2 separate regions of the Homo sapiens genome follow, and region 1 is linked to region 2. Evidence: promoter capture Hi-C in human tissues and cell types (Jung and others, 2019). All regions are on one chromosome and are shown on one strand. Each heading gives the region's core, a stretch centred on a gene start or on the middle of the fragment in contact. The rest is flanking DNA. Distances are from core to core; before and after follow the strand shown. Region 1 overlaps NR6A1 (nuclear receptor subfamily 6 group A member 1). Region 2 holds the start of PSMB7 (proteasome 20S subunit beta 7).

The links. The method cuts DNA at HindIII sites, captures the fragments that hold promoters and counts their contacts. A contact is called where the count stands out against the background at its distance.
Region 1: a contact is called between a fragment that was not itself captured here and the fragment with the promoter of PSMB7 in region 2, in 2 of the 25 tissues and cell types used here (IMR-90 fibroblasts and hippocampus).

The regions. Positions count from the first base shown.
Region 1 is chr9:124,517,674-124,523,085 of GRCh38, reverse strand. It overlaps NR6A1 (nuclear receptor subfamily 6 group A member 1), which reads left to right. Exons shown (of 10, transcript NM_033334.4): 10 at 293-5,412. The coding sequence ends at 381. Among named protein-coding and RNA genes, the nearest start is that of NR5A1, 13 kb to the right of the region's middle. The HindIII fragment of the contact is 3,650 bases long and covers 1,406-5,055 here.
Region 2 is chr9:124,411,670-124,417,551 of GRCh38, reverse strand. It overlaps PSMB7 (proteasome 20S subunit beta 7), which reads left to right and starts at 2,110. Exons shown (of 8, transcript NM_002799.4): 1 at 2,110-2,188; 2 at 2,617-2,710; 3 at 3,547-3,644; 4 at 5,060-5,200. The coding sequence starts at 2,127. RefSeq lists enhancers at 2,154-2,203, 4,712-5,882. The HindIII fragment of the contact is 5,075 bases long and covers 1-3,375 here.

The sequences.
Region 1 (5,412 bases), core at 1,981-4,480, 100 kb before region 2:
AGTGTGAGAATTCAACGAGGTAATGCATTTAACCACCTAGAACAGAGTTAAGTATTCCCTGAGTAGTAGAATGATGATGAGTTGGCACCATTACTAGGCTCCCTGGGCACCCAAAGGGGTCTGGATGTTAGGATGTTAGCCCAGTGTGTCCAACCTTTGTGATACTCCTGGCACTTCTCTTGCCCCAGTCACTCAGCAAGGTGATACTCTGCCTCCACCAGCCCAAGGAGGCTGACTTGCCTGTCCACTAGAGTGACCACTGCTAACTCTTCTTCTCCCCCCTTGTTCCCAGGAAAGATGGTGAATGTGCCCCTGGAGCAGCTGCCCCTCCTCTTTAAGGTGGTGCTGCATTCCTGCAAGACCAGTGTGGGCAAGGAATGACCTGTTCCAGGCGCCCTCCTCAGGCCAACCACAGCGTCTTGGGTGGGCAGGACAGGCTCTGGAGGGAAAAGCCAGAGAGACCAAGATGGAGGCTGTGGAGCAGCATTTCCCGTTGCCTCCATAGCAAGAAGAGTTTTTGTTTGTTTGTCTGTTTTTTTAACCTCATTTTTCTATATATTTATTTCACGACAGAGTTGAATGTATGGCCTTCAACATGATGCACATGCTTTTGTGTGAATGCAGCCAATGCATTTTCTTACAGTTTACAGAATGTGAAGATGTTTAATGTTACAGTGTTGTCATTGTTTAGAAATAGTTCTTTTGTATTTTGAGGGAGAGGGTGGGATGGGGCTAAGATGACTATTTCCATAATGTTGACAAAGATGACTACCTCAATGGAAATGGGGGGTGTGGCCATCCCTACTTTTTCCACATTTTCTCAGCAGACTCATACATTTGTCTGTCAGAGAGCAAATTGCCTTTTTTAGCCACAGAATTGCCAGATAAAACGGCACACTGTAAGGGGGCAAAGTGTTGTTAGGAGATTCACTAAGCAAGGTTGGTGAGACGGCAACAGGGTAGGAGGTGAGGATTGAGCCACGTCCTTTCCTTGGAAAGCGTGAAAATTAAGAGAGTAGGGCACAGTGACCATATTTAAGGCAGGTGTCCTTCCACCCAACAAGTCCTAAGGGCAGAAGAATTTCTGTTCTCACACCTTGCTGCCCCCCTTACCCCTGCACCACCATCATTGTCTACCACTGCGAACTTTCCATCTAGGCAAAGTCCTGGCAATCACTTGATCCACAGGACTCGCCTCCCAGCTCCCTCGGGGCCCCCAGCTACCTAGTTTCCTTACCTGGATCTCCTGAGGCCCACCTTCCTCCTTCCCACTCCCTTACACATTTGACTTCCTATTGGCCCTTTGAAAAACCAGCTGAGCAGAATGCCATGTTCTGAAGCCTGGTGCCCACTACTGATTTATTCTCCTTTCACCTTGTTTTCTTCAAAGGGTAGTAGGGCAAGGCCAGACTGCAAAAAGAATAGACACTCCCCTTTTGAAATCTGTTCCTCTCCCCTCCCCTTCCTACCGCACCCTCAGGTCTAAATCCGAAAACTTCAGGCTTTTTTAAACAATGAGAAGGACCATTCACCTGTCTGCTGACCAGAAATGTTGCCCCTAAGTTCTTCTCCAAGTTCTCCTTTTCTCTCCAGAGTGAGACCAGTTTTCCTCAGGGACCCAGGACACAAAGCCCAAGGCCCAGAGTGGCTCAGCTGCCCCTTACTTCAGCAGTGGACTGGCCAGCCAAGGCCTGGAGGGCTGGAGCCAGAAGCACCTGGAAGGGAAGGGGGGCTTTAAACTACCTCAGGTTCCTAATGGCCCGGCTGCTACCTCTGCAGACATGGCCTGGACTCCTTGACCTCTCACTACCTGCCCCACCTTATCCCAGGACGTGTTCCTTACCCTCTTGACTTTGGCCAGCGCTACACCAGGTCTGTCTTTGAACTCTTTCAGGTGCTTGTCCTGCCTACACCCAGGTATCTTTCACAGCCAGTGTGGCAAGCAGACCACTTAGTTGGCTGCATGCCTGGGTAGGTTGGAAGGGCCCACGGCACCTTCTTCTGCCTATTTAGTCAAAGGCTGTTTGCTGTCTCCTCAACTCAACCTAGTAAAGCTACCCAGGAGGGCACCACGTCGTGTGCATACTGGGTAGTCCATGTCTGATTGTAATTGTTTCTTTCTGGTGAAATGTTACGGGTACCAGCAGAGTGATGATTTTGGCCCTTGATGGATCTAAAACTCGGAACATTACTCCTCAATGCCGTTTCCCCAGTTGCTCTGAGAAGGAAGAGACATGTTCCTCAGGAAAAGCTCCAGCTAGCATGTTTTTCACGTCAGTGGGAAGATTCTTGTGTGTTCGTGTGTATCTGTTTATTTCTAAGTTCACGATACTTGTTCCCCTGAATTTTATTTAACCAACTAGATCACATTCTTTGGCCACAGGTCAGACTCTGAGCTGCTTTCCTCCAGATCGGGAAGGAGACACATATCACAGATGCCTTCTCTAAGACAGCTCCTGTGTACAGCATCGTTCTTTGCTGAGGCCTCTATCTGTCCAATTATTATTTTTGAAATTGCTTTTCAAATTAAACATTTTACCCGTTGTGTTGGGTGTCAAAAGAAATTGCTCTCTGATGAGGCAAGAACATGTCTCTCCAACAACGTAGTATTGAACAGAGCAAGTTGTTAATTTGTGGAGTAGGGGAAAGGTTCTGCAAGTTGCCATTGTACAAATCCAGTTTTACAAATGTTTGCAGCAGATTCCACAGAACAAAGAGCCCATTCATTGCCGAGAGCCCTGCAGAATCTCAGAGCAAAGTGGCTGTGTGTTCCGAGCCGGAGCCTGACCTGTGGACCGTCTTTAATGTCTTCTGCACCAGTCCTTTTATGACGTGGGCTTTTTTTAAACAGGGTAAAGTGAATGTGTTGCATTGCAAACTCAGGTATTATGAGGAGAAGGTAGGAGTGTAGCTAGCAGCGTGGAGACATTAGGTCAGCCACTAGATGTATTTGTGAATTTGGTTTGAAGGACACGGAGAAAGGTTGGAGGGGAGGTTTGGTGTGTTTGTTTTTTGCTTTCTTCCCCATAATGTTTGGTTAACAGGTAGCCTTTTTGCGAGTGGAAGGAGAGAAAAGTTGTGCATGTTTTCTCTAATTTCTCTTTCTGCCCTCTCTCTGATCCCCAACCACCAAAAGCACTCACTTTGAGTGAGGATTTTTTTTTTTTTTTTTTTTTTTTTTTTTGAGGCGGAGTCTCGCTCTGTCGCTCAGGCTGGAGTGCAGTGGTGCGATCTTGGCTCACTGCAAGCTCCGCCTCCCGGGTTCATGCCATTCTCCTGCCTCAGCCTCCTGAGTAGCTGGGACTACAGGCGCCCGCCACCACACCCGGCTAACTTTTTTTGTATTTTTAGTAGAAACATTGTTTCACCACGTTAGCCAGGATGGTCTCCATCTCCTGACCTCGTGATCCGCCTGCCTCGGCCTCCCAAAGTGCTGGGATTACAGGCGTGAGCCACTGCACCCAGCCGAGTGAGAATTTTTATGCCATAAAAATACGACTCTGAAAGCTACATGGAAAAGGAGAATCCCACCTCCTTGCACTACATTGAAACATGCAAGCCTTTCCCTCCCTCTCCTTTTTGATGTTTTCTTGTCCCAAGACAAAAGTTTGGCATCTTGGAACTTATTCATGCTCTCTGGCTGCCTTTGTAGACTTTTGGAGTCCTTTGCAAGGTTTGGTGGTCTCGTCGTTAATCTGGAGAAATTCCCCAGAATCTGTCTCAAAGCGCTCAACCTGGCTCAGAGGACACCCAGCCCCTATGCCCCACTCACAAGAGAGGTGGGCAAGCCCCCAGGGATAGGAGGAAGTAAGCAGGATCCTCCCTGTCCTGTTTCCCAGAACCAGAGCAAGGAATGGGGAATCCTAAGGGTTTCTGTGGCATCACTGAATGTCACCCACTCCACATCAACCTGCCTCTCACCTGCCACCCTTTTTCAGGGAGGTGAGTACCTGCCATGGTCACTGTTACCAGATCCTTAAAATCCTGGGCTCTGAGCTAGGTGCATTGCTCTGTTACCCATTTCCTACATTTGTTTGTTTGTTCTTGATTTCCTGGGGGAATGGGACTGATGGAGACAGACAAACCCACTGTGGGCAGCATCTAAGCCATGTCCAAGGTTGGTCGAATTAAGGGAACCCTGGCCTCTCAGCAGGACAGAAAGCTGAGCTGTGGTTCCAGGCCCTCCTCTCTGGGCCCCTGGTGTGTATCTTTTTTCCTTGTTGCTTTTGAAATTTTTGCAATTATTTTAAGAATCCAGTCTTTCAGACCAGCCCTTTTATTAAGCTTTGAATTTTTAATTGATTTTTTTAAAGTAAAAAAAAAAAAAACCCAAAAAACAAACAAAATTTAACAAAAAAATCCGCTACTCTTACTCCCCTGCCTCCCCCTACCCCAGCCCATGAGAGTTCCCTTGCACTCCCCTCTGCCTTTGCAACTGATCATCCTCCCTTTCTCCTTGGCTTGAAGCATCTATGTCCAGTATCTGTGAAATGATGTTTTATCTGTGTGTCAGGATGAGAAACGGCAGTCATTCCACCAAGTGTTGGAAACTGGTTAGCCTGGAGACAAGGGTTTCTGGGGCCACAGCTCAGGGATGTGTATTTAATTACAGGATCCCCAGAAACTCCTCTCTAGGCTGCCACAGCAACATTTTTTCTGGGCTTGGGAGCCATACCTGAACTGTTTCCTCCAAGGCGGGAACTCCAGAGAGCCTGCCAAGTCTGGAGCAAGCTGGGGCTTCTGCTTTGGCCAGACCTGGGCCACCATGAGACTTGAAGGCTTCTAGCTGTCCTACGACACGAGCCACGGTGGCCCTGCCTCTCCCCGCTCATAGAAGCCTGGTCCCTCTGTCTAGCCCAGTTCCCATCTAGCATCCGTCTTCTGGGCCTGAAGCCCTAAATGGACCACAGCCTGCACAGGAATCAACTGTAGGCTCAAAGGGAGGCGGTGAGTAAGGTCAGAGCCTGCTCCAAGCCCAAGAACAAAAGTTGTGTTATGGGTGGAGGCTAGTCCCCCAGATCTAGCCCTGCCGTCTTTGCCCTTTAATGACCATTGTTTTCTTTCTCTAAAATGTCTTGTAATAGGTGATAATGTTGTTGATTCAAATTTCCATGAAAAAGAAAAAAAAAACTACCTCTTAAGCGACATCCTGGTCGATTCCTCTCTGAGGAATCCTGTGGGAAAAGAATACTGTAGCTCCTGCTCTGTTTACATGTTTCTGTCGGGAAAGAAGCCCCGCCTGCCCTGGGGTGTTGGTGTTTTTGTCTGTGTTGCCATCCCAGGTCTGCCATAGGGGCTGGTGGCTGCATTGTGATGTCTGGGCTGTGTCTGGGGATTCCTTCCCACCTACCCAGCCAGGGACTAGTCACCCCCCTGAAGAGGCCTCCATTTCCTTCCTGTGCTCCAGGGCAT
Region 2 (5,882 bases), core at 861-3,360:
CCCAGCTACTTGGGAGGCTGAGGCATGAGAATCACTTGAACCCAGGAGGTGGAGGTTGCAGTGAGCTGAGATCATGCCACTGCACTCCAGCCTGGGTGATAGAGGGAGACCGAGTCTCAAAAAAATAAATAAATAAATAAAATAAAATAAAATAAAATAAAATTCACCTAACGTAGAAGTCACCATTTTAACCATTTTAAAGTGTGCAACTCAGTGGTTTTTAGTGTATTCATAATATCGTGCAACCAATACCACTATGTAATTCCAGAATATTTTCATCATTTTCCAAAAACTCTGCGCCCACTAAACAGTCCTATCCATTCTCTCCTCCTCCCCTAACCCTTAGCAACCAAACATCTACTTTCTGTCTGTGGATTTGCCTATTAAGAACACTTCACATACATGGAATGATACACTATGTGGCCTTTTGTGCCTGGCTTCTTTCCCTCAGTATATTTTTAAGGTCCATCCCTGTTGTAACATGTATCTGTGCTTCAGACTTCTTTATGGTCTAATAATATTCCATTAAATGAATTTACCATATTTTGTTTATCCATTCATCAGTGGATGGACATTTGTTTCCATTATTTGGCTATTGTGAATAATGAGACCCCCCCCTCGCTTTTTTTTTTGAGACGGAGTCTCTGCTCTGTTGCCCAGGCTGGAGTGCAGTGGCGTGATCTCAGCTCACTGCAACTTCTGCCTCCCTGGTTCGAGCTATTCTCCTGCCTCGGCCTCCTGACTAGCTGGGACTACAGGTGCCCACCACCACGTCTGGCTAAGTTTTTGTATTTTTAGTAAAGACGGAGTTTCACCGTGTTAGCCAGGATGGTCTCAATCTCCTGACCTCATGATCCGCCCACCTCGGCCTCCCAAAGTGCTGGGATTACAGGCGTGAGACACCGCGCCCAGCCAATGAGACCCCTTTTGACGCAGGGCAGGTAAGCCCCAAAGTGCGGCTGAGCCCACAAGGGTTCTTGGCTTTGCCCAAGAAAGAATTCAAGGGCAAGTTAGAGGCAGAAGAAAACGGCTTTATTGAAGTGGCGGCGTTACAGCTCCATGACTGCTCCTGCAGAGCAGGGTTACCCTCTTAGGCAGAGTGTCAGGGCAGTTTTGCTGTCATATTTATACACACTTTTAATTACATGCAGATTAAGGGGTGGTTTATGCAGGCATTTCTAGGGAAGGGGTAGTAACTTTTGGTTTATGGTGCCACTGCCATGGAAAGGGGCGGTAACTCACGAGTGTTGCCATGGCAACGGTAAACTGACTTGGCTGGCTGGTGAGCGAGTCTTAGGGAAGACAGCTTCCGTCCAGGCCCTGTTTTAGCTAGTCCTCAATTTGGTCAGGTATCTCAGCCCCATCTCTGAATGGAGGCCTGCCTTCTACCTCACCTTTGTAGAAGTTTTTGTGAATACATGTCTTCAACCCTCTCGGGTGCGTATCTAAGAGGATAATACTTTTTGGGGAACTGCCAAATTGTTTTCCGGAGCAGCCGCACCGTTTTGCATTCTCACCAGCCGTGTATTCGGGTTCCAATTTCTCCACACTCTCGCAACCCTTGCGCTTTTCTGTCTTTTTGTTTATGGCCATCCTAGCGGGTGCGAAGTGGGATCTCACTGTGGTCGTGCTTTGCATTCACCCTATGACTAATCATGTTGAGCCTCTTTTCACAGACTTAATGGCCATTCTACAGCAGCCTTTTGAGCTAGGTTGTAATCTCCATCTGATAGCGGAGGAAACAGATTCAGAGAGTTGAAGAGACTTGCTTAACGCAAGGGGGTGGTGGGGCTGTGCCTGGGACTTGGGTCTGTCTGTCTCTGAAGCACCGCAGAACCAAATTAACGGTAGAAACAAGTCCAGTCTGAGCGGCAGGAGACCTGGTCGCTGGTGCGTTCACCTTGGACAAGTCCTTTCCCGGTTCCGGGTGTCACTTTCTCCTCCGTGCCACTTGGGGCGATATACTTCAAACATCTCTGGCCTCTCTAGGAACCAGAATCTCTAAGATCAATCGTTCTAGTGCGGCGTTTGCCCCGCCCCTTCAGCCCCCGTTGCCAGCGACGCCGGAAGTGCTCGGCTCTTTTTGTTTGCACCCGCCTCCGACCCGGAACTGCTTTCTTGGGAAGATGGCGGCTGTGTCGGTGTATGCTCCACCAGTTGGAGGCTTCTCTTTTGATAACTGCCGCAGGTGCCGCCTTGCTTGGGGCTTGGTTCAGGGAGGGAGAAGAGTGCGGTGCTCGGGTGGGAGCTGGGCCAAGGTGTGATACGAGAATTCTGAGGGAAGAATTCATGGCGGGGCCTGTGGCCCGCGGCTAGTGTGACTCAGGGGAATCAGGGCCTGGGCGTGGGTTTCTCCTGAAGCCGGGTCTGCTCTCCCACCTTCCCAGCGCACTCGGCCACCGTTTATCTCCGTCTCCTAAGGCACGTCACGGCCCCTTTGTAAGACTGTCTTCGTTGGAAAACGGGAGAACAGTGCTGATGGTGGGAGGATTCATTAAACAGATGGGCGTGAAAACAAGTAGCAGCTTTCCTGAGTTCTCTGTTAGGCACTTTTCATGCCAGTGCTGTGCGATGTGGTCCTGCCCTTCAACACTTGATTCTCTCATTTGCTCTTAGGAATGCCGTCTTGGAAGCCGATTTTGCAAAGAGGGGATACAAGCTTCCAAAGGTCCGGAAAACTGGCACGACCATCGCTGGGGTGGTCTATAAGGTAAGCCGGGTTAGGCTAAGAGCAGCAGTGACTGAACCGGCAACAGGAATCAGAACACTTGGCTTCCGGTGTCTCTCCCGGCTCGGTCTGGAAAGGCAAATGCTATAGAATACATCAGGAGACCGTCTTTCAGGAGCGACTGCTTTTGTCAGGTTTTGTGTGCTTCTTAACAGTTTATGTTCTTTCCTCACTTTGCTGAGGTTTTTTCTTTCTTTCTTTTTTTTTTTTTTAAACAGGTCAGTTAGCTTCTTAATTACTAGTTTAGGAAGCTGAAGTATGTGATGGGAGATCACGAGATTTGGGGTCAGACAGGTCTGTCTCACCTTTGAACTCTATAGTGCTGATTCCAACTTCTGGCAGCTCACTTTCCTTCTCACAGGGACACCTTCAGATGCATCAAATGGAGATAACTCCTGCCTTAAATTGTTGGAAACGTCAAAAGGGATAATGATTACCTGTGCAACATGTTTTAAAGAAAAGCAACATGTTTTAAAAGGAAATTGATAGTGATGGCTAATTTAATGGAAAGATTCCTGAGTCTTAATCCAGGTTTTTTCCAGATTAGCTCTGATTTACAAGGAATTTACCCGACACCTGAGCCTCACTTGAAAATGGGAATAATTCTTACCTACTCAGGATTCAATTAGTAGCATTTACTAAGAAACCTTTTCTTAAATCCTGAAAGTGTAGCACAATATTTTTGCTATGAGTTTTGGCTGGCGTTTTGAGATTAGGGGAGCATGTGGTATGGCCAACATAGTATTCCCTAAAGTAGAATAGAGAGTTGCGGTTGGCTTATATTTGTAAAATTGTTTAAAAACTTTTTTTTTTAATAGGATGGCATAGTTCTTGGAGCAGATACAAGAGCAACTGAAGGGATGGTTGTTGCTGACAAGAACTGTTCAAAAATACACTTCATATCTCCTAATATTTAGTAAGTATTGATTCGTTTGAATAACTCTTATATTTTCAAACATGTCAGGGCTAAAAATTGACCTTCCTGTGCTCCTTACTAAAACCTGTTTTTCAACCTGTATTTTCTGTCTCCCTTAAATGGCATTTCCAGCCACCTGTTACCTAAGCCAGTAACTTCAAGTCCTCTCTTTGCTTCAGTCTCCAATTGAATTGGTGGCCAGTTTTGCCCTCTCTGTGCCTCTTGAATCCATTCCCTCCTATCCTTTCCTTTGCTAAGGCTCTAGTTTGGGTTCTTTTTTCTTTTTCTTTTTTTCAAACATTAACTTGAACCATAGAGGTTCTTTTTTCTTAGCTGGACTATTGCAGTTACCATTTAATTGGCCTCTCTTAGGCATCCTATTGTTCACTCTTCTGCCATACTGGATTTTGTAAAACATAGATCTGATGGCATCCCTTTCTTAAAAAGCTTTTCAAGAGACTTGTCACATTTCCACATGGCTTTTAGGATAAAAATCAAAATTCTGTGGCCTTGCACAGTCTCATAGAAAGCCTACCCTTCAAGCGTCTTTTTCAGTTGCCATCACCCTGTGCTCCAGTTACGTCTGAACTGTCCCTATTTCCCTCATCTCCAAGCTATTCTACCGTTGCTTATGTGAGATTCTATTTAGAAACTCTGCCTTCTCTGCTTGTAGAGTGTTTTTATTCCAGCTCATATATAACCTTTTCCTTTTTTTAAACATTTTTTTCGTTCTTTTTTTTTTTTTTTTTTTTTTGGGAGAGATGCGGTCACACTATGTTGCCCTGGCTGATCTTGATCTTCTGGCCTCAAGTGATCCTCCCGCCTGGGTCTCACATAGTGCTGGGATTACAGGCATGAGCCATCATGCCCAGCCTGAAACCTTTTCTTAATGATCAGAATCAATTACCTTCTCCTCCGGTTTCCCGTAGGATTTTGTACCTATGCTATTACTGTGTATTAAATTATGTGTTATAATTTTTGTCTTCTTGTGTATCTTACACTCAACTTTGAGCACAAGGCCTCTCATATTTTCTTTATTCCCAGTGCTTAGTGTAATTACTGGTATCTGATAGTAAATACTTGGTAGATGTTGAATTGCAAGAGTTAACACACCTGGCACTTCTGTACAACTTGGATATATTTGTAGCATTAATGGAATGCACACACTGTTATCACAGAAACCAATAATTTCATGTGTTCCATTGGGCCATAGATAATGTATTTGCATATAACTAGATGCATATTCTCAATTTTCTGTTTATTTAAGGTTGACTAAACAGAGAAGTTACAGCATAGATATACTCAAAAACATCTCTCTGTACCTGAACTTCATGGAAGTTATCCAAGAACCCATTACTTCTAATTGAGCCCTCTGGTAATTGGATTTCAGCTAAGTTTCTAATTGGATTTTTCAGTTGTTGTGGTGCTGGGACAGCTGCAGACACAGACATGACAACCCAGCTCATTTCTTCCAACCTGGAGCTCCACTCCCTCTCCACTGGCCGTCTTCCCAGAGTTGTGACAGCCAATCGGATGCTGAAGCAGATGCTTTTCAGGTAAGTTTCCAGAATGGGGATTCCTACTAGTATCTTCTTCTCATATCTTAGATTTTTTTCAGCCAAGAGAAGCCTGGAAAGTAGCAAAAACACATTCAGAAATACACATTTTGTTCCGGAAATCAGTTGTTATATTAAAGAGCCATTTTAAATGGTTTTTGATGGTGCATTTGAATTTCTGGGGCCTGATTTTTTTCATGAGTAAATCACATGTCACCAGTTGAGTCATTTCCTGGAGCATAGGGATATTACTGGATAAGAGAAACTTTTTTGTTCACGGTAAGAAAGTTATAGCTGGAGGAACTATCAAGTTGTCTTGTGAAACTACTCTCTCCTCCCCATAAACACAAACCCAAATGATTGTCTCTCCTTCCCCCCACCCCCTCCCTTTAGGGGCAAAATAACAGTGAATGAAAAGTGATATTTATAATTGGCTGTCAGTGGGTATGATAATATTAATATTAACCAACCTTTATCTACCTCTTACTCTGTTCCAGGACCTATGCTAAAGCGCTTTATGCACGATTTCATCCTTTTAACTCTGAGATAGGGACTATTAGCGTCTCCTATTTGTAAGTGAAGAAATTGAGGTTTAAAGAGGTGCAGTAGCTTGCCTGACCTGACCTTCATTCTCTGCTGACTCACAGCTCATATTAGTAGTTTTGTTTCTCTTTCTCCTTTA